7 separate regions of the Homo sapiens genome follow, and regions 1, 2, 4, 5, 6 and 7 are each linked to region 3. Evidence: promoter capture Hi-C in 16 types of primary human blood cells and fetal thymus (Javierre and others, 2016). All regions are on one chromosome and are shown on one strand. Each heading gives the region's core, a stretch centred on a gene start or on the middle of the fragment in contact. The rest is flanking DNA. Distances are from core to core; before and after follow the strand shown.

Region 1 (4,080 bases), core at 117-2,616, 600 kb before region 3:
TAAGACCGGCCTGGGCAACTTGGCAAAACCCTGTCTCTACCAAAAAAAAAAAAAAAAAAAAAAAAAAAGCTAGCTGGGTATGGTGGTGTACACCTGTGGTCCCAGCTACTTGGGAGGCTGAGGTCGGAGAATCACCTGAGTCCACAAAGTCAAGGCTGCAGTAAGCTGAGATCACACAACTGTGCTCCAGACAGGGCGACACAGCAAGACCCTATCTCAACAACAAAAAGAGAACAAGAAAAAAAACTACATGCCTCGCCCCCTAGCGGTCCCCACATCTTCCTGGCCTCGTTTTCTCCACAGCCCCGCCTCACCACCCAACACCCCATCTTGTGTACAGTCTCTCGGCTTCGGAATACAAACACCTTGGGCCGGGCTTTCTGTCTACTCTTCACTGCTGTGTCCCTAGAAACTACAAGGTGTAGGTGAGAGGAAGCATTTAACAAGCAACTGCGGGAGGAATGACTGCATGGAGAGCTACCACACCCGGGGGAGAGCAAAACGATGTGAAAATCGCAACCTCGACGTTCCTGAGACGACATCAAGTTCAAAGTCAAGCCTTCCATCTCAAATCCAGCACAGACTCCTTGCCTGTGCCCAGCACCCACTCATTCACTCAACCACTGCTGACGCAGTGCCCACGTCGTGCCAGGTTCTGTTCCAGGGGAACGAGGCAGACACGGCAGTGGTGGCATCCTGTGTTCCCCTAACAGCTTCCACAGCCACGTCCTGTATGCGACGGTTCCAAGATCTCAATTCACCTATGAGAGCAGCGTAGATCTCACCTTCCACATTGAGCGTGGTCAGAAAAGGATTTTATGGAGTTCATGATCAAGGGGACCTCAGCTTTGGTGTCGGTTCCGTCACAATGTGTCAAGCAGGTGGCCCCATTACCTGAAGAACAAGGGTGAAAGGACTCAAGTTATTCCCTGATGCGAGTGCAGTGCGCAGGCCGAGACTCCGCCTGTCCCTCCGGACCGCCTCATCTTTGAATATCCTGTAGGGGAAAAACGGACAGGTCTGTGCTCCCCAGCCAACCCATTCTGACCAGGACACCAGGGAGACACCATGCAGACCAGAAAAAAGGTAAGCGGAGTCCGCTTCCAACAAGACACCAGGAAACTCAACACGAGAAATTCAATGGTCCCAAAGGTTGGGTCAGTTTAAGTAATGGTTTCCTTCACCTCTCTCATCATACCTGTGTGCCTCAGGACCACAATGTGACAAGTAGTGGCATCATCAGAACCCAGAATGGAGATGGAGCCTGTTTAAAAAAGAAATAAAATAAAATATCCAATAGCCTTTTGGGATAACGCCCAATTCACTGCTTCCTAACCTACCATCCTTTGGGGAGGTCACTGCAAGCTCTCTTTGCTGAACATACAGAAGGCCCTGGGGTCCCACTTGTTGAACAGACTGACCTCTGAGAAGTCTGGCTCTTTCCTGTTTAATTAAAAAAAAAATAAAATAGTGATGTAAATTAGTGAGGATGGAAAAACTAAAGATGTGGAGAGAGCCAAAGTGGGCTCTGCGTGGGCAGCACGCTAGTGTGTGGGGAGTGTGTTAGTGGACAGAGAGGCTCAAAGAAAAAGGCAGCAGCCACGGTCATTCAGAACAATGCAGAGAAAACGATGCGGTTCTGCGCGGTGGTTTTTTTAACCTATGAAATCGGATGTCATAGTAACCTATGAAATGAGATGCAAAAATCCTTTATTATAGTTTTTTGTTTGTTTGTTTGTTTTTTAAAGACACAGGGCCTCACTATGTTGCCCAGGCTGGTCTTGAACTCCTGGGCTCAAGCAATCTTCCTGCCTTGGCCTCCCAAAGTGCTGGGATTACAGGCATGACCCACCACACCCAGCTATCACAGTTCTTTACTAAAGAGTGTGAGACTCTTAACAATTTTACCATTGTAAAGAGAATCAGATTACACAGGAATAGTGGATGGATGGCTCTGAAATCACATCCCCTCTTTTTTATTTTTTGAGACAGTCTCTCACTCTGTCACCCAAGCTGGAGTATAGTGGTACAATTTCAACTCACTGCAGCCTCCACCTCCCAGGCTCAAGCGATCCTACCACCTTAGCCTCCCAAATAGCTGGGACTACAGGCTTGCACCACCACACCTGGCTGAGTTTTATACTTTTTGTAGCGACGGGGTCTCCCTATGCTCCCCAGGCTGGTCTCAAACTCCTGGGCTCAAGCAATCCACCCACCCTGGCCTCCTAAAGTGCTGGGAGTACAGGCACACACCACCACACCTGGCTGATTTTTATACTTTTTGTAGAGATGAGGCCTCCCTATGCTGCCCAGGCTGGTCTCAAACTCCTGGGCTCAAGCAATCCACCCACCCTGGCCTCCCAAAGTGCTGGGAGTACAGGCACACACCGCCACACCTGGCTGAGTTTTATACTTTTTGTAGCGACGGGGTCTCCCTATGCTCCCCAGGCTGGTCTCAAACTCCTGGGCTCAAGCAATCCACCCACCCTGGCCTCCCAAAGTGCTGGGAGTACAGGCACACACCGCCACACCTGGCTGATTTTTATACTTTTTGTAGAGATGGGGCCTCCCTATGCTGCCCAGGCTGGTCTCAAACTCTTGGACTCAAGTGATCCACCCACCTTGGCCTCCTACAGTGCTGGGATTACATGCATAAGCCACCATACCTGGCCTCCGCTTTTTTACCTTAGTCCCTAACCTAGTAATTTCACTTCTGGAAATCTGTCCTAAGGAAATAACTCAAAATATGTTCATCCCTGTGTTATTTCTTTTATCTTATTTTTTTTTTTTGAGACAGAGTCTCGCTCTGTTGCCCAGGCTGGAGTGCAGTGGCGTGATCTCAGTTCACTGCAATCTCCACCTCCCAGGTTCAAGCGATTCTCGTGCCTCAGCCTCCCCAGTAGCTGGGATTACAGGTGTGCGCCACCATGCCCAGCTTTTCGTATTTTTAGTAGAAACTGGGTTTCGCCATGTTGGCCACACTGGTATCAAACTCCTGGCCTCAAGTGATCCACCTGCCTTGGCCTCCCAAGGTGCTGGGATTATAGCATGAGCCACCATGCCCAGCCCCCTGTGTAATTTGTAATGGCAAAAAGCTGGGAGCAGCAATGGAAAAGGTAAGTAAATTGGGCACAGAACCAAGTCACAGCCACTAACTGCACAGTCATGAGAAATGAAAACTATGGGAAAAAGAGTTTTGAAATGCTAATTGAAAAGCAAGATACAAAAGTATAAAAAATGTTTTAAAGAGCTATAAATGTGCCATAATACAACAATGATTAAATGCTTATACCCATAGAGAAAAATACTGGAAGGAAATTTCACCAGTACAACCATGGCTGTGCCAAAAAAGCAAACATGAGTGATTTCCTGTTGCTGTTGTCCTCTCTTCTCTCAATGTTCTATCACATAGTTATTGTTAGAATACAAAAACAAAATGGATAAGGCAAATTTACGAAAGGTATGTTAATACTAAGTGTCAATAATCTGAGTGTTTGTACACACTTATTTAGTAAGCTTGTAAAAAAAATTCAGTGGTTAAAAATTCAGTGGTTATTTAACAAAAACTTTTTCAAAATATTAAATTGATACAACACTACAATGTATCATAATTTCCTTCTTACTTGCAACAAACTCCTGGATGAACAAAATCTTCCTCAAATGTCTAGACAACGTATGTATGTATTGCCTACACAGGAAGACAGTTTTGCAGTCTTAGTCTTCTATCAGCTTCTTGCCATTTCGCATGACTGGTGCTAATTTAGGTTAGCGCTCACTTAATAAAACATAAGAGCAGCTGGGTGTGATGGCTCCCAACTGTAATTCCAGCACTTTGGGAGGCTGAGGAGGGAGGACTGCTTGAGCCTAAGAGTTCAAAACCAGCCTGGGCAACAAGGAAGATCCTGTCTCTACAAAAATTACAAAAATTAGCTGGGTGTGGTGGCATGTGCCTGTAGTCCCAGCTACTCTGGAGGCTCAGGTAGGAGGATCACTTGCAGCCAGGAGGTGGAGGCTGCAGCGAGCCATGATTGCACCACTGCACTCCAGCCTGGGTGACAGACCAAGACCCTGCCTCAAAAA
Region 2 (3,920 bases), core at 20-2,519, 540 kb after region 3:
ACTGTGATAACAAGTGTAATTAGATTAGTGGTTCTTGATCCTTAAGACGTAGTTAGAATTGCCTGAAAGATTTTCTAAAAATCAAAGCTCTCATGGCTTAGCCCAGATCAATTAAATTCATCGTCACAATTAGCTGCTATAACGATTAACATGCCCATTTTGGAGATGGGAACACGGAAGCTCAGAGAGATGATCTACTTGTCAGGATCACCCAGCTAGTCAGTGCTGGGGCTGGGATTTGGACCTGGGCAGTTGAATGCCACAGGCTCGGCTTCTTACCACTATGTGGGTGTTTTCCAGGTACACAGTTTGCCCAGGTTCTTCAGTGCAACAAGGGGGAGGGTGTCTTGGCCCGTGGCATAAAAGAAGGATGGGGTGGAGGGGGAAGCCCAGGTAACTTGAGCTTGGTAAGTCTCATCGTGCAATGGTGCTTGAAATGCTGCTATTTTCCAGCTTGATCAAAATGCTGTCATGCTTATTACCTGGGACTTTCTGCATGAGGACAAGGACCTGGTCTGTTAGAGCAGGAGTCCTCAACCCCCAGGCCACAGACTGGTACCAGTCTGCAGCCTCTTAGGAACTGGGCCATACAGCAGGAGGTGAGCGCAGGGCAGGTGAGCAGAGTGTCATCTGTGTTTATAGCCACTCCCCATCACTCCCATCACCGCCTGAGCTCCACCTCCTGCCAAATCAGCAGCAGCAATAGATTCTCAAAGGAGCACGAACACTTGTGAACTGTGCATGTGAGGAATCTGGGTTGCGTGTTCCTTATAAGAATCTAATGCCTGATGATCTCTGTCTCCCATCACCCGCTTTGGGGCCATCTAGTTGACGGAAAGCAAGCTCAGGGCTCCCACTGGTTCTACGTTATGGTGAGTTGTATAATTATTTCATTATATAGTACAATGTAATAATAATAAAGGGCACAATAAATGGAATGTGTTTGAATCATCCCAAAACCACGCGCCTCTCCCCGGTCCGTGGGAAAACTGTCTTCCACAAAACCAGTCCCTGGTGCCAAAAAGCTTGGGGACCACTGTGTTAGAGTGTTCCCTGTTGTACACCCAGGATGGTACAAAGTGGGCGCTCAGTGAGTGGTCGCTGAATGGCTAGCAGAAAGAAGAGCAGCACGGTGCCAGTTTCCAAGTGACACGCAGATGGCGTGATCTGCACGTGTCATCCATTGCCCGCAGCCCCCATCTCCCCCCAGTACTGATGCTGGCTTGCCATTATGGGCTGGGGTGGCCCCCACATCCCCCATCCCTCCCACACCCCTCCTGCCAGACTCAGCACTCACCGCTTCCAGAGGAACTTGAGTCTACGACACCAGGGTCAACTTCTTCCAGGCAGAGGAAGGTGACCAGACGGTCAAAGGACACCCGGGCCTAGGAAAACCGAAGCCGCAGGTCACCCAGCAAGAAGAGCAAAGAACTCAGGTTTTGGGTGTCGGTGTCTCAAGATGTGTGGCAACAGCTTCCTGTCTACCAAGCTCTGTGCATAGGAGGCGTGAGGACAAAGCTTTCTAGTTCATGGGAAACGATGCAACCCGAGTGGTGACCTTGATGGTGGTGATCTCCCACCTCTGCGATCCTACAAATCAGTGACACCGAAGCAAGCCAGCTGCCATTCTGCAGACAAGATCTGGGAAGAGGATGGTGGCTTTTCCAATAAGGTTATCAAGCCATTGTGTGGAACAATTTCAAATGTTGTCCACCTGGGGGCGCTCTCTCCCAGTCACAAACCCATCTTTGGGGAAGAAAGAGACCAGTCGTTAAAATAGAGATTAGGCCAGGTGCAGCGGCTCATGCCGGTAATCCCAGCACTTTGGGAAGCCAAGTGCAGGAGGATCACTTGAGGCCAGGAGTTGGAGACCTGGGGAACATAGCAAGACTCTTTGTTTCTACAAAAAATTAAAAAAATTAGCCGGATGTGGTGGCCCATGCCTGTAGTCCCAGCTACTCAGGAGGCTGGGAGGTAGAAGCATCACTTGAGTCCAGGAGTTTGAGCATGCAGTGAGCTGAGATCGTGCCACTGCACTCCAGCCTGGGTGACAGAGTGAGACACTGTCTCAATAAATAAATTAAATAAATAAATAAATAAATAAATAAATAAATAAATAAGGCGGCCAGGCGCGGTGGCTCATGCCTGTAATCCTAGCACTTTGGGAGGCTGAGGCGGGCTTATTACATGAGGTCGGGGGTTCAAGACCAGCCTGGCCTGGCCAACATGGTGAAACCCTGTCTCTACTAAAAACACAATAAATAAATAAATAAGACTGGGTGCAGTGGCTCATGTCTGTAATCAGCACTTTGGGAGGCCAAGGTGGGCAGATCACCTGAGGTCAGCGGTTCAAGACCTGCCTGGCCAACATGGTGAAATCTCATCTCTACTAAAAATACAAAAAAAAAAAAAAAAATTAGCTGGGCATGGTTGTGCATGCCTGTGGTCCCAGCTACTTGGCAGGCTGGGGCAGGAGAATCACTTGAATCTGCGAGGTAGATCTTGCAGTGAGCCGAGATTGCACCACTGCACTCCAGCCTGGGTGACAGAGTGAGACTCCATCTCAAATAAATAAATAAATAAAAATAAAAAATAAAAAACATGGAGATGGCTCAGGTATGCCGCCGTTTCTTGTTTTCACCATGCTGAAAGGACTAGAGATAGCAAAGGAAGAGAAACAAAATCGCTTTGTATAAAAAAGGGAACTGACATGATTGCTTGTATGTGGAATTGCTGGGCAGATGGACAAGTATGCATGTTCTGAGGTGTGTGTGGAAAGGTCTGCACATTGCCCTCCAAAGGCTGACCCCTTCCAGATGTATTTGCTGTACTCTCTGCCCGCCTCTGTTCTTGCCCCTACCCGCCTCTTTTCCAGCTCCACACCATCCCTCTCCCTCCCACTCTGTCTTCCCTCTCCTCTGCAAATGGCAGGGGTAGGGAAGCTGGAGCCAGGTGTAGCCCACGCACTCTCCCAGGATGGCTCCAGCCCTTGCACCCACCTCACCTGGACGAGGGAGTGGATGGAGAAGGGCAGGAAAGCCTGGGCCTTGTTGAGGATGTTGAGAACTGTGAGAGTCACAAAGGCTTTCTCTGCATTCATAGCATTCTCGGCCACCAGAGTGTGGACAGCAAACACCACCAGTGCGACCTGGGGGGTGGGGGGGACACGTGGGGCAACAGTGAGACACGCAAGCATGGATAGGGCAGCCTGGGCAAGCTGTGGTGCCTGCACGGTCCATGTGGCCCACCCGCCATGTCCGCATGTGCTTCCCTCCGTAGATCCCACTCCCAGTCCTGCTAACACATGTCCTCTCCGCAGTCATAAGCTACATAAGGCTCTCTCTAAAGACACAGCGCATTGCTAATGGTGATGAGTGCGCAGCCCCACGGCTCTAGGCATCACTAGAACCTAGGGGAGAACCTAATGCCTCTAGGTTCCAGGCATCGGGGGACAGCAGAGTTTTTGATCTTGGTAGCCCTGTTGTTCTAGACGTGGTGGAACTTGTGATTCTAGAGTCCCTTGGAAGATGACTCTAAAGTTGCAGGCAGGAGCAGCACTTGAGGGCTCTAGGTGTTGGTGCCATTTGTGGTGCTTTTTTTTTTTTTTTTGAGATGAAGTCTTGCTCTGTCGCCCAGGCTGGAGTACAGTGGCATGATCTCGGCTCACTGCAACCTCTGCCTCCTGGGTTCAAGTGATTCTCCTGCCTCAGACTCCCAAGTAGCTGGGATTACAGGCGCCCGCCACTGCAACCAGCTAATTTTTGTATTTTTAGTAGAGACAGGGTTTCGCCATGTTGGCCAGGCTGGTCTTGAACTCCTGACCTCAGGTGATCCACCCACCTCGGCCTCCCAAAGTATTGGGACGACAGGCATGAGCCACCACACCCAGCCTACGTATCAAATTTTTTAAAACTGTGGTT
Region 3 (4,346 bases), core at 1,647-4,146:
TAGGAGTCAGAGCCAGCTCTGAAGCCTGATTTGTTAATTACTAGTTGTAAGACCTCGGACAACTCAATTAACTTCCTGCACCTTTATTTTCTTATCTTTAACATGGATACAATTTAATGCTTTCCTGTGGTTCATCACCTGTGGTTCAGTTGCATGGTCTCCTCTCTACAGTGGCCTTCCCTGACTATAGCATCTGAAGTGACCCCTCCCAGCCCGTTGTATCAAATGGGCTTGCCTTAGTCATAGCACTTATCAGTATCTGAAATGACGTTACTTTTTCTGCTTATAGATTTAGTATGTTTCTCTCTTAACAATATAAGCCCTTTGAGGACAGGTACTTTGTCTGACTGTATTCACTGTGCTGTAAGGGTGCATTGTACAGAAGAATGCTCATAATGCCGGGTGCTGTGGTTCATGCCTATAATCCCAGCACTTTGGGAGGGAGGCTGAGGCAGGAGGATCACTTGAGCCCAGGAGTTCAAGACCAGCCTGGGCAACATAGTGAGATCCACGTCTCTACAAAAAAATGTAAAAATTAGCTGGGCGTGTTGGTGCACACCTGTGGTCCTAGCTACTCCGGAGGATGAGGTGGGAGGATCACTTGAGCCTGGGAGGTCCAGGATGCAGTGAGCTTTGATTATGCCACTGCACTCCAGCCTATGTCACAGGGTGAGACTCTGTCTCACAAAAAAAAAAAAAAGCTGGATAATAATATATATATTTTTAGTTTTTATGGGTACACTGTAGGTGTTTATATTTATGGGGTACATGAGATATTTTGATAACAGGCATGCAATGCATCATAATCACATCAGGGTAAATGGGTGTCCATGACCTCAAGCATTTATCCTTTCTTTGTGTTACAAGCACTCCAATTATACTCCTTTAGTTATTTTAAAATGTACAATACATTGTTGTGGACTGTAGTCACCCTGCTGTGCTCCCAAATACTAGATCTTATTCATTCTAACTCTATTTTTGTACCCACTAACCAGAATGTTCGGTATTTGTTAATGAACATGTTATGACAGGATGTTTTAGAAGAAAATAAAGAAAAAAAGAAATTCCAGCCAAGCATGGTGGCTTGATTTTATTTATTTATTTATTTTGAGATGAAGTCTCCCTCTGTCTCCCAGGCTGGAATGCAGTGGCGTGATCTCCACTCACCGCAACCTCTGCCTTCTGAGTTACATGGCTCACGCCTGTAATCCCAGCACTTTGGGAGACTGAGGTGTATTGCTTGAGGTCAGGAGTTCGAGACCAGCCTGGCCAACACAGTGAAACCGTGTCTCTACTAAAAATACAAAAAATTAGCTGGGCGTAATGGTGGGCGCCTGTAATCCCAGCTACTAGGGAGACTAAGACAAGAAAATCGCTTGAATCTGGGAGGCAGAGGTTGCAGTGAGCCGAGATCGCACCATTGCACGCCAGCCTGGGCAACAAGAGGGAAACTCTGTCTCGAAAAGAAAAAAATTATTTTTTAATTTTAATTTGTTAGTGAACAATTAGGGTTGCTGTGAGAATTGTGCCTGGCACACACAGCCATTTAAAAATCACGATCTTCAGGCAGTGTGTGGTGGCTCACGCCTGTAATCCCAGGACTTTGGGAGGCCGAGGTGGGTGGATCACCTGAGGACAGGGATTCGAGAGCAGCCTGGCCAACATGGTGAAACCCCGTCTCTACTAAAAATATAAAAATTAGCCGGGTGTGGTGATGCGGGCCTGTGATCCCAGCTACTCGGGAGGCTGAAGCAGGAGAATTGCTTGAACTCAGAAGGCAGAGGTTGCAGTGAGTGGAGATCACGCCACTGCATTCCAGCCTGGGAGACAGAGGGAGATTTCATCTCAAAATAAATAAATAAACAAAATCAAGATCATTTAACAAATACATATATTGTACTTACTAAGTTCAAATTTCTGTTCTAAACGTTTTTACAAATGCTGTTAAGTCATTTAGTCCTCTGCATAATGTCGTTTGTTTGTTTGTCTGTTCTTTAAGACGGAGTCTTGCCCTGTCGCCTAGGCTAGAGTGCAGTGGTGTGATCTCGGCTCACTGCAACCGCCACCTCCCGGTTTCCCGTGATTCTCCTGCCTCAGCCTCCTGAGTAGCTGGGATTACAGGTGCGTGCCACCACATCCGGCTAATTTTTTGTATCTTTAGTAGAGACGGGGTTTCACCATGTGCCAGGCTGGTCTTGAACTCCTGACCTCGTGATCCACCCGCCTTGGCCTCCCAAAGTGCTGGGATTACAGGCGTGACCACCGCGCCAGACCCATAATGGCGTTTTATAGATGGGGAAACGGAGTCATAGAGGCTAAACAACTTTCCCAAGACCACACAGTTAGTAAGGGGCAGGACTAGGACTCAAAGCCAAGTTTATGACCAAATTCTGGTGCACTACGTTCTCCTGCTTCTGGAGAAGATAATGATGCTGAAGATTCTACTTTTGGTGTAAAGGAGTAGGAAGGGCACGGGGCACTGCTAGCTTCAGTGGGCCTGAATCTTTGTCTTTCCTTCTGATTTGGAGAAAGTGCAAGAATGGGAAAATGCAATCGAAGTGAAGGAGAGGCCGGCGTATTTTCCTGAAATGCGCGGCCCGCAAGCCCAAACCCGTTTCCCGGGTGTCCAGGCAGCGTTCTGCAGCATCTCCAATGCCCGCCAGCCCGCCGCAGCCCAGCGCCCGGCAGCCGGCGCCTCTCAAACCCCCTCCGGCCAGGAGCCTTCGCCGCTTGGCCGCGCCGCGCCCGGCCTGGGAAAAAAGTTTCCAAACGACGCTGCTCTGCGCTGATTGGCCGAGGCGGACGCGGTACCGTAGAGCAGCAGCCAATGGGAGGCGCCGACCGCAGGCTCCGGGGCGGGGGCGGGGTCCGGAGGGCCGGGGCCGCACCGCCCTTCGCAGCCGCCTCTGCCGCCGCCGCCGCGTTGGCCTCGCCGCCCCTGCTCGGGTAAGTGAGGCGCTGCGCGGGGCTGGGGTCGGGGTGGCTGTCCGGGGACCTCCACCGCGGCTGAAAAGCTCCTCTGCCCCGCCCCAGGATCCCGGGACCCCGGGCCACCGCCTGGCAGGGACCCCTACGCCCCTCGCTTGCGCGTCGCTTCCCGGCCGCCTGGACTCCCCCGGTCCCTGGGCTCCAAAATCCCGCCTCCCTGGAGCCTCCCGTCCTAAAAAGTTAGGCACTGAGTGCCTTGCCACCGGTGCGTTCCTCGCGCTGGCCCCTCGCCCTTGGCAACTTTGTTTCTCTTTCTGCGTTGGTCTCTCTCCCACCCCGTTGCCCTCTTCTCCTTCCGGGACTTCCTGGGTGGTTAAGCCTTGCCGGTCCCCAAACCCCGCTGCCAGGCTCCATCCTCTTTCTCCTCTTCCTTCCTCCCCATACTCCTCTCCTAGATGACCCTCGTTTCTTTTCTCTCTCTCTCCTATTCCTCCATCCTGCCACCCGCTTCTCTGCGACCCCAGACCCCTCGATTGCAGCGTTGCCCCTGCCCTCACACCCACTGTCCCGCCCCTGCAGGCCTCTTTCCAAAAACCCACCCTGCTCCCTCCCTCCGGGAACACGTTTGGGGCAGTCTGCTCTCCGCTTTGCTCCCGTCTCTGCCGCAGGACGGTTCAGGTTTCTTCTGACAGCACTTTGGGGAGGGATTGGGTAAAGGACGAAAATGCTTATTCCGCAGCTTGAGTGATGGCTGGGCTCACTGAGGACCTGAGTCTCTGAGGTCCTGGGAAACCCCGCTGTCACCTTGACACCGCTTTTGGGGAGGCGACTTTATCTTCTCCGAGCCATCTCAGGCTTTCTGCCTCCTGAGGGCCTGAGCTTCCTTGATTGCTTTGTCCGTGGTTACTACCAGGTTGTGCCTCTTAATTTCTACTTTGAGCCTCAGGCCCCTTTTAACTTTCTAAAGAAAAGGCCTTTGCAGCACGACCTAGGCAGGTTCATCATTTTTAGTTTTGTTATAGTGTATTCTAGCATAGGATGGCATTTTAGGACATGGGTCGGGTGTTTTGAAGATTAATTAGATCCCAGCTACTCCTAAAGCCTCTTGTTACCCGACCACCCCAGCCTCCATCACCTCGTTGGTATACAACCCGTTTTTTTTTTTTTTTTTTTGTTTTTGTTTTTGAGACAGAGTCTCACTCTCGCCCAGGTTGGAGTGCAGTGGTGCGATTTTGGCTCACTGCAACCTCCGCTTCCCGGGTTCAAGCGATTCTCCTGCCTCAGCCTCCGGAGTAGCTGGGACTACAGGTGCGTGCCACCACGCCTGGCTAATTTTTTGTATTTTTAGTAGAGATGGGGTTTCACCGTGTTAGCCAGGATGGTCTCGATTTCCTGACCTCGTGATCTGCCCCCTCGGC
Region 4 (4,142 bases), core at 691-3,190, 590 kb before region 3:
CAATGATTACTTATTAAAAACAACAACAAAAAAGCCATCTTGAAGCTGCTTTTAATGAGAAAACAAATGTGCTCCCAAGCAACAGAGCAGCGAAATTCTTTATTACTGGATTCTAACTTTCCTCTCTAACTGTAACTGTCTCAGCTCCACCTCATGTGACCTGGAGGGTATGTTGCAACCTGCGTCTTCACCACCCATTCATGAAGATCTATAAAACTAATGTAAACTGCTGGGGCAATTTCAACATGAGTCAACTGGAGATTGTTACTTGGTAAGAATGCGCAAGTGGCAAAGATCTAAATTCATTCAGCTAATTTGTAATTAACCTTCGCTTCTCACATGTCAGTATGTGAAGTGTCTGGTTTAAGCAATTTATCCAAAAAAGCCATAGACTCTTTAAATAACAACAAAACCTGGGCCTGGAATTTTATAAAGGCAGAATGAGTAAGACACGGTTTTGGTGTGCTTTTTTAAAGAAAACAGGGTCTTGCTCTGTTGCCCAGGATGAAGTGCCATGCTGCATTTACAGCTCACTGCAGCCTTGACCTCCCACCTCAGCTTCCAGAGGAGCTGGGATTACAGGTGTGCACCACCACGCCCAGCTAATTAAAAAAATTTTTGTAGAAACAGGGTGTCACTGTGTTGCCCAGGCTGGTCTCCAGCAATCCTCTGGCCTTGACCCCCTAAAGTGCGGGGATTACACGCACGAACGACTTGCCACTTACTATCTCACTGTGACCTGGAACCAGAAAGGAGATTCCGAGAGTGTGCTCAATCAATCACAAACTGACCTTTTTCATGGGTTTCTTGAACTCCTGTAGCTCTTCAGCACTCATGTCTTCCCACACCTGATAAATAGGATCAATGAATTTCTTTGACCTGTCAACAAAGATCACATTTCAAAGTCAAGTTAAATACTTCGGCAGAAGTCAAAATTGGTTTGGATCTTTTCTCACAAGATCTATTACCCAAAACCAAGAAGTGAAAACTACAGCTTAAATAATTACATTTAAAAAAAACCTGGCTGGGTGCAGTGGCTCACGCCTGTAATCCCAGCACTTTGGGAGGCTGAGGTGGGCAGATCATGAGGTCAGGAGATCGAGACCATCCTGGCTAACACGGTGAAACCCCATCTCTACTAAAAATACAAAAAATTAGCCGGGTGTGGTGGCGGACACCTGTAGTCCCAGCTACTCGGGAGGCTGAGGCAGAATGGCCTGAACCTGGGAGACGGAGCTTGCAGCGAGCCGAGATCGCGCCACTGCACTCCAGCCTGGGAGACAGAGCAAGACTCTGTCTCAAAAAAAAAAAAAAAAAAGAAAAAAACAAAACAAAAAAACAACCCTCTATGTAAATGCTGTAACTAATGTGGCTCTTTCTGTATAAGAGTTCATTCACTCATGTCGATGGAGTATTGAACTACCGTTTTTCATCTTTCCATTTTCATGTGAAATTGTTTCTAAACTTTACAAAGACTCACAAGTCAGTTAGATACAGTATATCCAAATGGAAATGAAACCGTAATATTCTGGAACTCTCTTTTTTATATTTCTGTAGTAATTTGCTGAAAAGTAAGTCTAGGAAAAACAACTAATCTGGTTTCAGTCAACCAAGACTTCAGGGACCAGACAATCCCAGATGGTCATGATGCTGCTAGTTATTTTAGAAACCATAATAAGCAAAAATCCTGCTTCCTTATACAAGTGCCAAGTTAAGGCTGGCCCAGTGGTTTTCTAGAACAACTCATCTAGATAAATCGCTTTTTGTTTTTTTTTTGTTTTGTTTTTCTGAGACAGAGTCTCACTCTCTCGCCCAGGCTGGAGTGCATTGGTGCAATCTCGGCTCACTGCAACCTCCACCTCCCGGGTTCAAGAGATTCTCCTGCCTCAGCCTCCCGAGTAGCTGGAATTACAGGCGCCACCACCACACCCAGCTAATTTTTGTATTTTTAGTAAAGACAGCGTTTCACCATCTTGGCTAGGCTGGTCTTGAACTCCTGACTTCAAGTGATCCGCCCGCCTCAGCCTCCCAAAGTGCTGGGATTACAGGCATGAGCCATTACGCCCAGCCAATCGTTTGTTTTTCGTTTATCCTGTGCAACAGAATGGTATGTGGTCTCTAGAGGAAGGAACAAGACACTTGGCAGAAAATTATGAAGCAAGAAAAGACAGCACCCTCCCCTATCCTGGCACCATTATCCCCATTAACCTTACATGTTTAAATAACAGTTTAAAGAAAAACAAAAAACAAAAAACCCTTGATGTCAGTCTGGCTCCTAGTGAGGCAAAGATCTACCCACTCTGGGGTGCCTGCGCCACTCGGCAAGTCCTGCTAGGCATCCTCTACTTTGCATCTGGTGAAATATACGCAGGGAGACCACGAGATGCTCATCAACAGCGAGGAAGGGCCACTTCTGGTGAAGAGCCCTAAATCCCAATTTTGGGAAAAGCAAACATGTATCACGTTTAAATCCACCTCCTGGCCGGGCGCGGTGGCTCACGCCTGTAATCCCAGCACTTTGGGAGGCCGAGGCGGGCGGATCACGAGGTCAGGAGATCGAGAACATCCCGGCTAACACAGTCAAACCCCGTCTCTACTAAAAATACAAAAAATTAGCCAGGCGTGGCAGTGGGTGCCTGTAGTCCCAGCTACTCGGGAGGCTGAGTCAGGAGAATGGTGTGAACCCGGGAGGCGGAGCTTGCGGTAAGCCGAGATCACACCACCGCACTCCAGCCTGGGCGACAGAGTGAGACTCCGTCTCAAAAAAAAAAAAAAAATCCACCTCCTCCAGCGTCAATGTTTAAAAGTACCTACCTCTTCAGCACACAGGGATCAAAGGGGAAGAAGGTGTCCAGCGGGTTTGTGCAGATCTGCACTGAGTCTCCTCCAGCGGTACTCCTAATGACTGGCAGCATCTGGCGATTGTTCCTCTCAATGATGGTGTAGCAGAAGACGAGCTGGTACTTACTGTGGAACAAAAAAACAACACAGACAGAGGCATTAACATGCTGGAGTGACTCGGTGCAGATGTGAGCTGCGTGTGACAACTGTACCTACCACAGAGAAATTGCTGAATATAACAAGTGCTAGTAAAAATAACAATATAAAGCAGAAAGTAACACTTTTAGGGTACCGTTCTATGGGTCTTCTATTTGCAAGTTTGCTAAGGAGAAAGAAAACGTGGCTATCACTCAGAATGTGAAACTGGGCTTATATTTTAATGAGTAATAGATATTATTCATTATATTTTAATGAGTAATAGATACTATTCATTAAAAATAAATGTTTGCAAGGCAAAACTCTTAGATTACGTAACTATAGGTGTCTTTATTTTTACTGTTTGCAAAAGAATTAGAAGGTTGGTGGTAAAGGGATTCAGGAGTTACTCAGGAGGAAATAGTGGTTGGTGAAGAGACTTGCTGAAGAAGCACTGAAAAAGAAATAAGCCTTTACTGAAGGAGGGACACGGGGTTGACTAAGTCATGACCTCAAAAACAGGCACAGAAAGGACTAGGCATGCCGAGTGAGAACAGTTAAATGCATAGAAGAAAACATAAAATAAAGACAATTATGTTTTTAATTTTTCCAGTAGTTGTCTCTAAATGATTGAGCAACTTGAAAAATTATCTATTGGACAGCTTCTCCAAGATGAGGACTCAGATCTCACTTCTGTCACTCTCCATCTCAGGTTCTCAGGTCACCATGGCAACTTCAAGCCACATACTTTGATTTCTGTCCTGTTAGCCAAGGCTCACAGCACTTGACCCCTCCTCCTGGTGGAGGACACATCAGCAAAACCACACTGGAGGGTGGTTTGCACTATCAGGTAAAGTTGAAGATCTGCATCTCCTACAACCCCGCAGCTGACCGCACTTCCGGGTGTGTGACAAGGAAGCATGTGCCCACACACAAGAATGTTCCTGAGCACTAAAACACTAACACAGCCGGCTGGGCACGGTGGCTCACACCTGTAATCCCAGCACTTTGGGAGGTTGAGGCAGGCGGTTCACTTGAGCTCAGGAGTTTGAGACCAGCCTGGTCAACATGATGAAACCCCATCTCTACTAAAAATACAAAAATTAGCTGGGCGTGGTGGCAGGCGCCTGTAGTCCCAGCTATTCGGGAGGCTGAGGCAGGAGAAC
Region 5 (4,338 bases), core at 1-2,500, 690 kb before region 3:
TCCGGAGTAAACTTCTGTTAGATTTCTCCCAGCTGGGCAGGCTTCCAGCTCACCAAAACATCTCCTTCTTTGCTTTTTACTTATATCCCCCTTGTATCATTTTTCCATGGCTGAGGTAACAAATTACCACGAATTTAATGGCTTAAAAGAACACAAACTTCTTGTCTTAGAATTTGGGGTGTCAGAGTCTAAAATGGGTCTGCAGGACTGCATTCCTCCTGGAGGTCCTAAAGGAGAGTTCATTTTCTTGCCTCTTCCAAGCTTCTAGATGCTCCCTGCACTCCTTGGCTCCCCATCCAACATCTTCAAAGTCAGCAGCATAAATCTTCCCATCTCCCTTTCTCTCTCTTTTTTTTAGACAAAGTCTTACTCTGTCACCTAGGCTGGAACGCAGTGGTACAGTCATAGCTCACTGCAGCCTCAAACCCCGAGGCTGAAGTGATCCTCCCGCCTCAGCCTCACGAGTAGCTGGGACCACAGGCATGCACCACCATGCCTGGCTGATTTTTAATTTTTTATAGAGACAGGCTCTTGCTATGTCACCAGGGCTGTCTTGAATTTGGGAGCCCGCGATCAGAAGCCAGCATGGTCGGCAGCTCCCTACACCACGTCCGGGCTTCCCGGGCCTCCAGCTGCCCCCTGCGCCGCCGCCGCCTCCCGCACCTGCACGTGGCCACTCCAGATGCTCCGGAGGGATTGAGCACCCCGCGCACACCCAGCTCACACCATCCAATCCGGAGGCCATGGGCCGACATGGGGGCTGAGCGTTTGAAATGAGCCCGGACCACCAGATGCATGGGTCCGTTCACACGAAATACCCAGAACAGGCAAAGCCACAGAGGCAGAAAGTATGGGGTTATTTATTTTAATTAATTAATTAATTGTTTTGAGACGTAGTCTCCTCTGTCGCCCAGGCTAGAGTGCCGATCCCTATGTTAGCTTGATGTGGTGGCTCATATCTGTAATCACAGCACTTTGGTAAGCTGAGGCGGGAGGATCGCTTGTCAGGCCAAGAGTTCAAGACCAGTCTGGGCAAAATAGTGAGACCCCCCTGCTATGGTTTGGATTTGGGTCCCTGCCCAAATCTCATGCCGAATTATAATCCCCAGTGTTAGGGGAGGGACCTGGTGGGAGGTGATTGGATCATGGGGGGAGAGTGCCTCCTTGCTGTTCTCCTGATAGTGAGTGAGTTCTTATGAGATCTGGTTGGTTTAAAAGCATGTAGCGCTTCCCCCTTCTCTCCCTTCCTCCTGCTCCAGCTATGTAAGATGTGCGTGCTTCCCCTTTGCCTTCCGCCATGATTCAAAGTTTCCTGAGGCCTCCCAGCCATGCCTCCTGCACAGCCTGTGGAACTGTGAGTCAATTAAACCTCTTTTCTTTATAAATTACCCAGTCTCAGGGAGTTCTTTATAGCAATGCAAGAACGGACTGATACAACCTCCATATCTACAAAAAAAAAAAAAAATTGTTTTAATTACCTGAGCATGGTGGTGCACACCTGTAGTCCCAGCTACTCTGGAGGCCAAGGCAGGAGGATCACTCCAGCCTGGGCAACAAGAGCGAAATTCCGTCTCAGAAAAAAAAAAAAAAATTAAAAAATTTAAAAAACGTAAAGAAAAAAATTATTTTGCTAAATCTGGCAAAGCCAAAGGGATGAAACTGACATTTACTGGGCACCTTCTGCACAAGTCAGTTCTCCTAGGAACCCAGAGAGGCAAGGGATTGGTAGCAATCTCTAGAGGCAAATATCCTCTAATATCCATGGTGTTCTTTGTGGAGCAGCTCAATGGATTTACTTAATGGGAAATGAAAGAAGGAAAAATGAAGACTTAGAAGGCTTCGATGATTTCCAATGCATTACTGTATACTTATCTCTTCTTAGAAGCAATAGAAAAAAAAATCAGGAATTAAAGACAATCTATTACTCAAGCAAATGCTAAAGGCCTCCCATGGTCTTCAAACAAGAAGAGATGCTCTAAGATAAATTACTTCATTACGTTGATGCTTCATCATCCGTGGAAGCTGTGACTCAGAGCCCTGCAGCAATAATTAGGCAGTGCGTTCATGTCCCGTTAATGTCCCCAAACAGTGGGAGATGAATGGAGAACATAGGGCTGTGTTCGAATGAAAAAAGGGTTTTGTTCGGCGCTCTTTCAGCAGGGAATAAGTACTGATGTGGGAACTGAGCTTCTGTTTACAACTAAGGATCACATTAAAAATATATTAAGATGACTACAGTAAAGCTTATTGTAGCTATTATTATTTCATTTAAATGAATCCCAGTTTCATAAGAACCACCAAGGGGGCTACCATGTCTAAAATGTAACTTCTCTGCGAATCCTGAAATTTCTACTGACAAAAGACTACGATGCACAATTAATTAATTAATTAATTAATTAATTTGAGATGGAGTCCCACTCTGTCACCCAGGCTGGAGTGCAGTGGCACGATCTCAGCTTGCTGCAACCTTTGCCTCCCGGGTTCAAGCGATTCTCTTGCCTCAGCCTCCTGAGTAGCTGGGATTACAGGCATGCGCCACCACGCCTGGCTAAATTTTTTCGTATTTTTAGTAGAGATGGGGTTTCGCCATGTTGGCCAGGCTGGTCTAGAACTCCTAACCTCAGGAGATCTGCCTGCCTCGGCCTCTCAAAGTGCTGGGATTACAGGCGTGAGCCACCATGCCCGGCCAACACGCAACATGTTTAAGACCAAAAGGACTGTTTTGCAATGAAGCAGATGAATCAACCAGTAAGGCCAACCCCTCAAAAAATGTAGCACTGAAGTTTCTTCAACATCTGCCTCTGAGACTTGTTCATATGTGCAGACACAGAGCAGGAAACTAAAGCAACTGCCTTCCTCTTTGTCACCTGAAATGAGAATGGAGAGAGGCTGGCAAGGAAATGATATGTAATCTTCCCTCCTTCCTGATTTTCTTTTCTATCCTTTTTTTTTTGAGTTGGAGTCTCGCTCTGTCACCCAGGCTGGAGTGCAGTGGCACAATCCCAGCACTTTGGGAGGCTGACGGGGGTAGATTACTTGAGGCCAGGAGTTTGATACCAGCCTGGCCAACATGGTGAAACCCCATCTCTACTAAAAATACAAAAAATTAGCCAGGCGTGGTGGCATGTGCCTGTAATCCCAGCTACTTGGGAGGCTGAGCATGAGAACTGCTTGAGCCCGGGAGGTGGAGATTGCGGTGATCTGAGATCGTGTCACTGCATTCCAGCCTGGGCGACAGAGTGAGACTACATCTCAAAAAAAGAGAAAAAAAAGAAAAGAAACATTTACAATCTATTCACTCTGAAATTTACAGTCTATTTACTCTGAAGCCTGCTACCTGAATGCTTCATCTATGAGATAAAACTTTAGTCTCTGCAACCTCTTATTGTAACCCATATATCCCTTTCTATTAATAATAACTCTTTCAACCAATTGCCCATCAGAAATCTTTTTTTCTTTTTTTTCTTTTTTTTTGTTTTTTTTTGTTTTTTGAGACGGAACCTCGCTCTGTCGCCCAGGCTGGAGTGCAGTGGTGCGATCTTGGCTCACTGCATGCTCTGCCTCCTGGGTTCACGCCACTCTCCTGCCTCAGGCTCCTGAGTAGCTGGGACTACAGGCGCCCGCCACCACACACCACTAATATTTTGTATCTTTAGTAGAGATGAGGTTTCACCGTGTTAGCCAGGATGGTCTCGATCTCCTGACCTTGTGATCCGCCTGCCTCGGCCTCCCAAAGTGCTGGGATTACCGGCATGAGCCACCGCGCCCAGCCCAGAAAATTTTTAATCTATCTATAACCCAGACCAAACCAATGTAAATCTTTAAATGTATTTGACTAATGTTTCATGCTTCCCTAAAATGTATAAAATCAAGCTGCGCCCGGACCACCTTGGGGATGTGCTCTCTTGCTGCTACGCTTTCTGCAAATTTTCCATACAATTTTTCTTTTTCTTTTTTTTTTTTCACACAGAGTCTCACTCCATTGCCCAGGCTGGAGTGGAGTGGCACGATCTTGGCTCACTGCGACCTCTGCTTCCCAGGCTCAAGTGATTCTCCCACCTCCGCCTCCAAAGTAGCTGGGACTACACGCCCAGCTAATTTTTGTGTTTTTTGTAGACAGGGTTTCGCCATGTTGCCCAGACTAGTCTTAAACTCCTGGACTCAAGCAATCTGCCCTCCTCAGCCTCCCAAAGTGCTGGGATTACAGGCAGGAGCCACTGCACCCAGCTAGAAGAGGGAAAGTTTAATATAGTTGATTCTCATTATTCAAGATAGTTACATTCAAAAAAGTCACCAAGGACACTGAATTGGTGAATATTGAATCATTTGCTCTAAAGG
Region 6 (3,354 bases), core at 38-2,537, 510 kb after region 3:
CGTGCCTTGCTTCCCTTTCCACCATGATTGTAAGTTTCCTGAGGCCTCCCCAGCCACGTGGAACTGAGTCAATTAAACCTTCCTTTCTTTATAAATTACTCAGTCTCAGGTAGTTCTTTTTAGCAGTGTGAAGATGGACTAATACACAGCCCCAGCTGGCTGGGGACCTGAGATGAAAGGAAAAAGGACTTCACATGTATTGAGCACCTAGTGTGTACTTGACCCTCTCCACACTCTGGTACCAGACTGCTTGGATTCAAATCCTGGCTCTGCCAGTATTAGCTGTGAGACCCTGGACAAGTTTCCAAACCTCACTGTGCCTAGGATTTATCATCTATAGAACAGTTTCTTCCTGGTGAAGCTGTTAGCAGAATTAAATAAATTAATCTACATAGATTGCTCAGAACAGTGCCAGGCATGCAGTAAGCATGTTACAGGTCTTACCTATGAGTGTCTGTATTTAATCCTCATATCCACTCCATGAGCACGATCCCAGTTTGACAAATGAGGCTCAGAGAGGTTATGTAACTTGCCTGAAATCAACCAGCTGGTAAGTGGCAGAGCTGGGATTTGAACCTGTGTCTATTTGTGCTTAAAGCTTGTGTTCTTGTTCTTGCTTAGTACCTAAAGATGGCTGAGGATGCTTATATGGCTGCTTTATCACCAAGGCAAAAGAGGTTGATCCAGTTGCCTGGCAACAGAAGCTTCTTCCTGTACCCCCCGCCCACCTGCTGTTGAGAATCTCTCGGTCATGTTCCATCTGCCCACGGTGAGAACTGATAGACTGCCTGTGGGATCTAGCCTCAACTATGTCCCTGACTCTCTGGGTGACCTCTCTACCATACAATATGACCTCAGGTCTCACCCTCTAAGGATATGGATGAATTGCAAGGTCTTCTCTGCCCTGGCTCTTCCTACCTGTCAGCCACCAGTCGCGGGAAACTGATCCTCTGGCTTTCATCTACGCGAGCATTGTTCTGAGCCACAAAGGGGGCCTGGGTTCGGAATGCCCGGACCACTGTGCTGCCCTGGAACGTCTCAGCCATGTGGGAGCAGACAGACGAGTAGCTGGCTGACTCCAAGCGTCTCAGCTGGCATGAGCTAACCACATACAGGCTCTGAGAAGGATGGATGGGAGAGGGAAGAGGAGAAGCCACAGACATAGAGAGGTAGTTTCCAGAAGCACAGAGAGCCCCAAGTACAGGATTCCAGACCAGGATCTGTTAACAGCTTACTGTGTGACCTTGGGCTAGTTGCTTGCCCTCTCTGGGTTCTCATTTCCTTGCAGAATCAGAGTTCTATGGTTTTTTTGAAAATCACCTGGGGAGCTTCAAAAACCTCTAATGCCCCACCCCAGAATGACTGAATCGGAATCTCTGGAAATGTCACCTTGACTTTGGTGCTGTTTAAATAGCCTTCCAGATGATTCTAAGGGACAGCCAGGGTTGAGAAACCACCAATTTAGTTTAAGTGTCTCACTTCCCAGCACTGAGGCCGACTACTTCATTTACGGCTGGTCAGTGGGAGAACAAAACTGTAAGGGGCAATGAAGGCAGTTGGCCAAGTCAGTTTCACTCATGTAACCCAAGGGTTACATGCCAGGTGATGTGCAGAAAATATTCGTTATTTGGTTTGCAGCTGCAGGTTGGGTGCAGCTGGCAGACAGGCAGGCAGGGAGGAACTGAATTTGCTGAACACCCAACTGTATGTGCCAGGCTTTTCACACAGTGTCTCATTCATTGCAGAGTGAGCATTCGCGTCATTCATCAGTTAGTGGTGAGAACATCCAAGGCTCGGGGGATTCAGCAGCTGTCCTGAGTGCCACAGTAAGTGATAGAGCCTGGATTTAAACCCATCTTTGCTTGACTCTAAAGCTTGAGACAGAAACAGCCCATCCTCGGAGTCAAGTGAACTTAGAGAAGACCTAGGACAATTGTCGGGGACAGTGGTAGCCATGGGTTTTGTTGTTTGTTTTTTGAGATGGAGTCTCTCTCTGTCACCCAGGCTGGAGTGCAGTGGTGCAATCTCAGCTCGCTGCAACCTCTGCCTCCCGGGCTCAAGCAATCCTCCCGCCTCATCCTCCCAAGAAGCTGGGATTACAAGCATGCGCCACCACACTGGCTAAATTTTTGTATTTTTAGTAGACGGAGTTTCACCATGTTGACCAGGCTGGTCTCGAACTCCTGACCTCAAGTGATCTGCCCACCTCAGCCTCCCAAAGTGCTGTGATTAGATGTGTGAGCCACCATGCCTAGCCCTAGCCATGGTTTTTATCTGACTACCATGTTTTCTACTTCTGGTTTCCTGTGGGAAAGGGCTGGGTTGGGGTGCTGTCAATCATGGGACCTGATCAGAGAGGTGGTCACATGATGCAGCCTAGTGTATCAGAATCTACTATCCATTCAGTTACTGTGACGAGTTCAGAGATGGACACATGATCCACAAAGGGCCAATCAGAACCTTCCCTGGGATTAATATATGACTACTGAGCTGAAGAAACGTTTTTTGCATGTTGAGTTGCTAAGGTGAGATGATATGATAGCTAGTGGCCATAAGACCTGCCCTGGAAAGAGAGCGTGTACAAAATTAGACCAGAGGTAAGCCAGTGGTTCCTAAACATTTGTGTACATCAGAATTACTTGGAGGGTTAATTAAAACCTAGATTCATGGGCCGACCCACATAGTATCTGAGGCAGTAGTCCTGGGCTGGGGCCTAAGAATGTACTTTGCTAACTAGTCCCCAGGTGATACTACTGCTGGTCCTGGGGTCACACTTTGAGAAGCACTGAGTGAAGATATGGAGAGAGTCACTGTGTCCTGATGACAACTGGGCCCATGCCCCCAAGGAAATATAAGCCATTAAATTCTATTCTTTTGGTTAAGCTAATTTTAGTTGGTTGCTGGTCCCAGCAATTGAAAGAATCTAGCTTCATATAATAGCCTTTGAGACCTTGCAATGCCTTTTTGGCTTCCAGATAATTGGAGAGGAAGAAATTACGGCAGGATAAAAACATTACGCGTGAAAGGCTCTGGCCCTTAATATTTAACTGTGCCGTGGGGCACAGGGGCTCATGCCCTGTAATCCCAGAACTTTGGGAGGCCAAGGTGGGAGGATCACTTGGGGCCAGGAATTCGAGACCAGCCTGGGCAACACAGGAAGACACTTGTCCTACAAAAATAAATTTAAAAATTAGCCAGTCATGGTGGCACGTGCCTGTAGTCCCAGCTACTTGAGAGGCTGAGGTAGGAGGATCACCTGAACCCAGGAGTTCAAGGCTGCAGGGAGCTATGATCACCTATTGCACTTCAGCCTTGGCAGGAGAGCAAGATTCTGTCTCTCTAAAAAAAAGAACT
Region 7 (4,135 bases), core at 797-3,296, 820 kb before region 3:
ACCTGGGAGGCGAAGGTTGCGGTGAGCCAAGATTGTGCCACTGCACTCCAGCCTGGGTGACAGAGCGAGACTCTGTCTCAGAACAAACAAACAAAATGCCATTGAAGACATATATGAATATGAAAAGGTGGTTGCTAAGTGATGATTGAATAAAAGAGATTATAATATAAAATAGGCTTTGGTTTTTTTAAAGCAAAAAAGAAAAGGATATGCCTAAATTAGGGAACATGGAGAAGAAGGCCAAGGCATTTACCTTCCTCTCTTGAGTCTTTTTCTCTCTCCGTCTCTTTTTTTTTTTTTTTTTTTTTTGAGTCAGGGTCTTGCTCTGTCACCCAGGCTGGAGTGCAGTAGTGCCATCATGGCTCACTGCAGCCTTGACCTCCTGAGCTCAAGCAACCTTCCACCTCAGCCTCTCCGGAGTATCTGGGACTACAGGCACACACCACCAAGCCTGGCTGATTTTTAAATTTTTTTGTGGAGACTTGTCTCACTTTGTTGCCCAAGCTGCTTTGGAACTCCTGGCCTCAAGCCATCCTCTTGCCTAGGCCTCCCAAAGTGCTGCGATTACAGGCGTGAGCCACCATGCCCAGCTCTCTCTTGGGTCTTAAAGCAAAGTGTCAAAGACCCAGCCACCACTTCTTAGAAATGACTCGATGTCATACTAGCATAAATGCATCGATAAAAAGATGGAAATGTGGTAACACAGTGATCTTGGGGAATCCTAGTTTTCTTTTCCAATTTCTTTGTTGTTGCAGTGAGCAAGTACTTGTTTCAAGATAGGAATGAAATATTCGGCTCTTTTAGACAGACAAGCACAGGTGCTCAGTTTGGGAGAAGAATTAAAATCCTCTGCACTCTCCATGCTGCCTTGCTAATTCTCGGGGTCCTGTCCTCATCTTCTACTCTTGCCTTCTGCAGGGACCCCACAGCGTGTTTTCCCCGATCTTTTTGTATCACTCTAAATCCAGTATTGGGCCCAGGGAGCACCCCCTCCCCTGCCCCCTTCAGCTGTCCTCCTGCCTGAGTCTTCTGGAAGCTTCGGGACAGAAAGAACCCAAGGATTTGTCATGAAGCTCAGTGTGGCAGGTCTACTGTTTCCATGTAAATCATGTCTGCTTATCTGAGCTGGTTTTGGTGGAAACTGATGGAAATTATGGGGAAGCTAAATCCCTGTCTCTCTGCAAGCCACTCCCCAATCCCACCCCCATGAATTGGCATTGTCACAGTCCTGGTGCTTCATTTCTTTCTATATTTGAAGATGAATTTGAGGGAAATAGTCAGAAAGTCAAGAAGAACACAGCAGAAATCAATTGGGGTGAGTCCAGAACAAAACTTGGGGATCCCACTTCCTGCTTTTTTTTTTTTTTTGAGATGGAGTCTCACTCTGTCGCCCAGGCTGGAGTGCAGTGGCAAGACCTCAGCTCACTGCAACCTGTGGCTCCCTGGTTCAAGTGATTCTCCTGCCTCAGCCTCCTGAGTAGCTGGGATTAGAGGCATGCGCCACCACACCTAGCTAATTTTTGTATTTTTAGTAGAGACAGGGTTTTGCCATGTTGGCCAATTTGGTCTCGAACTCCTGACCTCAAATGATCTGCCCACCTCGGACTCCCAACATGTTCATATTACAGTAGTAAGCCACGGCTTCTGGCCCCAATTCCTGCTCTCTAGCTCCGGGAAAACCTATGGCTGCATGCAGAGTCTTAGACAACTTCCTTTTCCTCTCTGGGCCTCAGTTTCCCATTCTGTAAGATGAGAGGTTTCCATAGGCCTACACTTTCTAATTGGTGGCTTTCAATCCTCTGGTGATTTGCATAAAAGGCATCTATTTCAATTGTGGTTATAAATAACAAACCCCAATAAGTAGACGAATTATTTAAATGGTTTCTCATTATCACTGAATAGTTGAGAGTCTACTGTATTTGAGTGAAAATGCAGCACGAGAAACTGAAATCAGATGCACTCATGATTATGACCCTGAGGTCAATGTGTCATTCCCTTCATTCCCTCCTTGCCCCCATGAAAGTTTGACTACTGTATGGTTTGAACCTGTGCTTCTTAGTTGTTTATTGCTTAAGTTTTAGCCACAATGGCAAATTGCAGCGGGAAATTCAGTCTTACTTTGTCATTTGGAAACAAAATACAAAACCTATCAAAATAAAGCACTAGCTTTTTTTTTTTGAGACAAAATGGAAGAAATCCTAATATTAGGTAAGAAAAGCAATTTTTTGGTGTTTTTTTAATTTTATTTATTTATTTTTTTGAGACAGAGTCTTGCTCTGTCGCCCAGGCTGGAGTGCAGTGGTGCGATCTCGGCTAACCGCAAGCTCCGCCTCCCAGGTTCACGCCATTCTCCTGCCTCAGCCTCCCGAGTAGCTGGTACTACAGGCGCCCGCCACCACGCCCGGCTAAGTGTTTATATTTTTAGTAGAGACGGGGTTTCACTGTGTTAGCCAGGATGGTCTCGATCTCGTGGCCTCATGATCTGCCAGCCTTGGCCTCCCAAAGTGCTGGGATTACAGGCGTGAGCCACTGTGCCCGGCCTCTTTGGTGTGTATTTTGATGTGGTGACTGGTAGTTAAATTCAGTGTACATATGAATTCACTCTTGGGACAAAATATGCTGGATTTGAGCTTGTTTTTAGGCAAATCATGTTTCATCTTGCAGAGCTAATTCAAAGTATACTGACTGCATGCACTTCTTGCTTAGGGGAAGAAAACTCATCAAAATTTGTTTCTAGGCATATGTTATTAGAGCTAGGATTAAAATAAATCTTACATACTTTCTTTAATATGCTAACATTAACACGTTTTGCTTAAAAAAGTATCGATCATTTATCATGGAAAAATACACCAGCTTACACAAATTCTTAAAGCGTTTTTCGTGTGTGTTTTTCGTGTGTGTGTGTGTGTGCGTGTGTGTGCGTGTGCGCGTGTGTGTGTAGAGATGGGGTTTCGCCATATTGCCCAGGCTGGTCTCGAACTCCTGGGCTCAAGCGATCCACCCACCTCAGCCTCCCAAAGTGCTGGGATTACAGGCGTGAGCCACACACCCGGCCCTAAAGCTTTTTGTGAGATTATATATTTTACCTGCGAAATATATGGGTCAGAAAGATTTGAGAAAGTTGTTAGATAATTCCACCAACAAAATCTCCCGTCCTTTCCAGCTGTGATGGTGAATTCTAAAGTAGAATTCATCTTTGGAGCTTCTCCCTGTAGGCATGCACCTTGCGTTGCGCCTGCCAGATGTCGCGCGGAGTCCTCCAGGCCTCTAGAAGGCAGAGATGGTCTCGTTTCCTTGCCGAGCATGCGCCTTAGTTCTCTCTTCTGGGGCTGTGAACGTGGGGTCGAAGCGCGCGTGCGCGGCGGCTCTGGCGGCGGCGGTGGGGCGGGGCCTGGGCTGTCAGCCGGCCTAGGAGGAGGAAGGAGCCTGCGGCGTGCAGTGTGAGGGGCGGGACCCGGCTGCCGGCGGTGGGTCTAGCTGGGGGAGGTCGGGCCATGCTGGTGGGCCAGGGCGCGGGGCCGCTGGGGCCCGCGGTGGTCACCGCCGCGGTGGTGCTGCTGCTGAGCGGCGTGGGGCCGGCGCACGGCTCGGAGGACATCGTGGTGGGCTGCGGTGGCTTCGTCAAGTCGGACGTGGAGATCAACTACTCTCTCATCGAGGTGAGCGCCCGCCCCGCCGCCCGGCGCCGAGTCGCCGGGCCGGTGGTTCAGCCTCTCTGGGCCGCGCTGGCCTCGTCTCTGACACCGGGCGGTGTGGAGTCCTTGGAGCCCTTACCTCTTCCGAGGCTATGCTGTCCGCGGGCTCCCTGCAGCCCCTCCCCAGTCGCGCTGGAGGGGAGGTTCTTATCATGGGGTCGTCTAAGGACTGAGGGGTGCCAGACCTCAGGTTCTTCAAAACCCCGACTCCAGATCCCCGGAACACAGACCCCAGATCCTCAAAACCCAGACCCTAAATTCCCTGGAGCCCAGACTCCATTTCTTTAAAACTTAGACCTGAGATCTCCTCGAATCAGACCCCCTGAAACTCAGATTTCCCCAAACCCACATTCCAGAACCTAGAGACCACATGTCTTATCCCCCAAACTCCACAGCCCAGAACCCCCCGAAGTTCTAATCCACTGCTCCTCCAAACCCCG

The links. Contacts are between HindIII fragments. The CHiCAGO score rates a contact against its expected background, and 5 or more counts as called.
Region 1: a contact is called between a fragment that was not itself captured here and the fragment with the promoter of NDE1 in region 3, in 2 of 17 cell types (fetal thymus and total CD4 T cells). The highest score is 6.7, in fetal thymus.
Region 2: a fragment that was not itself captured here is called in contact with the fragment with the promoter of NDE1 in region 3 in 2 of 17 cell types (megakaryocytes and monocytes); the score reaches 6.3 in megakaryocytes.
Region 4: a contact is called between a fragment that was not itself captured here and the fragment with the promoter of NDE1 in region 3, in 1 of 17 cell types (fetal thymus). The highest score is 5.9, in fetal thymus.
Region 5: a fragment that was not itself captured here is called in contact with the fragment with the promoter of NDE1 in region 3 in 6 of 17 cell types (erythroblasts, M2 macrophages, neutrophils and 3 more); the score reaches 9.5 in erythroblasts.
Region 6: a contact is called between a fragment that was not itself captured here and the fragment with the promoter of NDE1 in region 3, in 1 of 17 cell types (erythroblasts). The highest score is 7.5, in erythroblasts.
Region 7: a fragment that was not itself captured here is called in contact with the fragment with the promoter of NDE1 in region 3 in 2 of 17 cell types (erythroblasts and total B cells); the score reaches 6.3 in erythroblasts.

Annotation. Positions count from the first base shown.
Region 1 is chr16:15,046,657-15,050,736 of GRCh38, forward strand. It overlaps NTAN1 (N-terminal asparagine amidase), which reads right to left. Exons shown (of 10, transcript NM_173474.4): 2 at 1,341-1,443; 3 at 1,199-1,264; 4 at 786-894. It also overlaps a transcript of PDXDC1 not described here. Among named protein-coding and RNA genes, the nearest start is that of NTAN1, 7.4 kb to the right of the region's middle. The HindIII fragment of the contact is 4,295 bases long and covers 1-3,514 here.
Region 2 is chr16:16,185,827-16,189,746 of GRCh38, forward strand. ABCC6 (ATP binding cassette subfamily C member 6) reads right to left here. Exons shown (of 31, transcript NM_001171.6): 13 at 3,005-3,148; 14 at 1,298-1,385. Among named protein-coding and RNA genes, the nearest start is that of ABCC6, 36 kb to the right of the region's middle. RefSeq lists a silencer at 574-747. The HindIII fragment of the contact is 493 bases long and covers 1,024-1,516 here.
Region 3 is chr16:15,647,349-15,651,694 of GRCh38, forward strand. NDE1 (nudE neurodevelopment protein 1) reads left to right here and starts at 2,897. Exons shown (of 9, transcript NM_017668.3): 1 at 2,897-2,946. RefSeq lists enhancers at 2,598-3,099, 3,100-3,599. The HindIII fragment of the contact is 10,572 bases long and covers 1-4,346 here.
Region 4 is chr16:15,062,405-15,066,546 of GRCh38, forward strand. It overlaps RRN3 (RNA polymerase I transcription factor RRN3), which reads right to left. Exons shown (of 18, transcript NM_018427.5): 16 at 2,815-2,967; 17 at 792-879. It also overlaps a transcript of PDXDC1 not described here. Among named protein-coding and RNA genes, the nearest start is that of NTAN1, 8.4 kb to the left of the region's middle. The HindIII fragment of the contact is 4,781 bases long and covers 1-4,142 here.
Region 5 is chr16:14,957,124-14,961,461 of GRCh38, forward strand. No RefSeq gene overlaps it. Among named protein-coding and RNA genes, the nearest start is that of PDXDC1, 16 kb to the right of the region's middle. The HindIII fragment of the contact is 1,982 bases long and covers 260-2,241 here.
Region 6 is chr16:16,162,075-16,165,428 of GRCh38, forward strand. ABCC6 (ATP binding cassette subfamily C member 6) reads right to left here. Exons shown (of 31, transcript NM_001171.6): 24 at 919-1,118. Among named protein-coding and RNA genes, the nearest start is that of ABCC6, 60 kb to the right of the region's middle. The HindIII fragment of the contact is 1,170 bases long and covers 703-1,872 here.
Region 7 is chr16:14,830,358-14,834,492 of GRCh38, forward strand. It overlaps NOMO1 (NODAL modulator 1), which reads left to right and starts at 3,364. Exons shown (of 31, transcript NM_014287.4): 1 at 3,364-3,659. The coding sequence starts at 3,495. The HindIII fragment of the contact is 2,025 bases long and covers 1,035-3,059 here.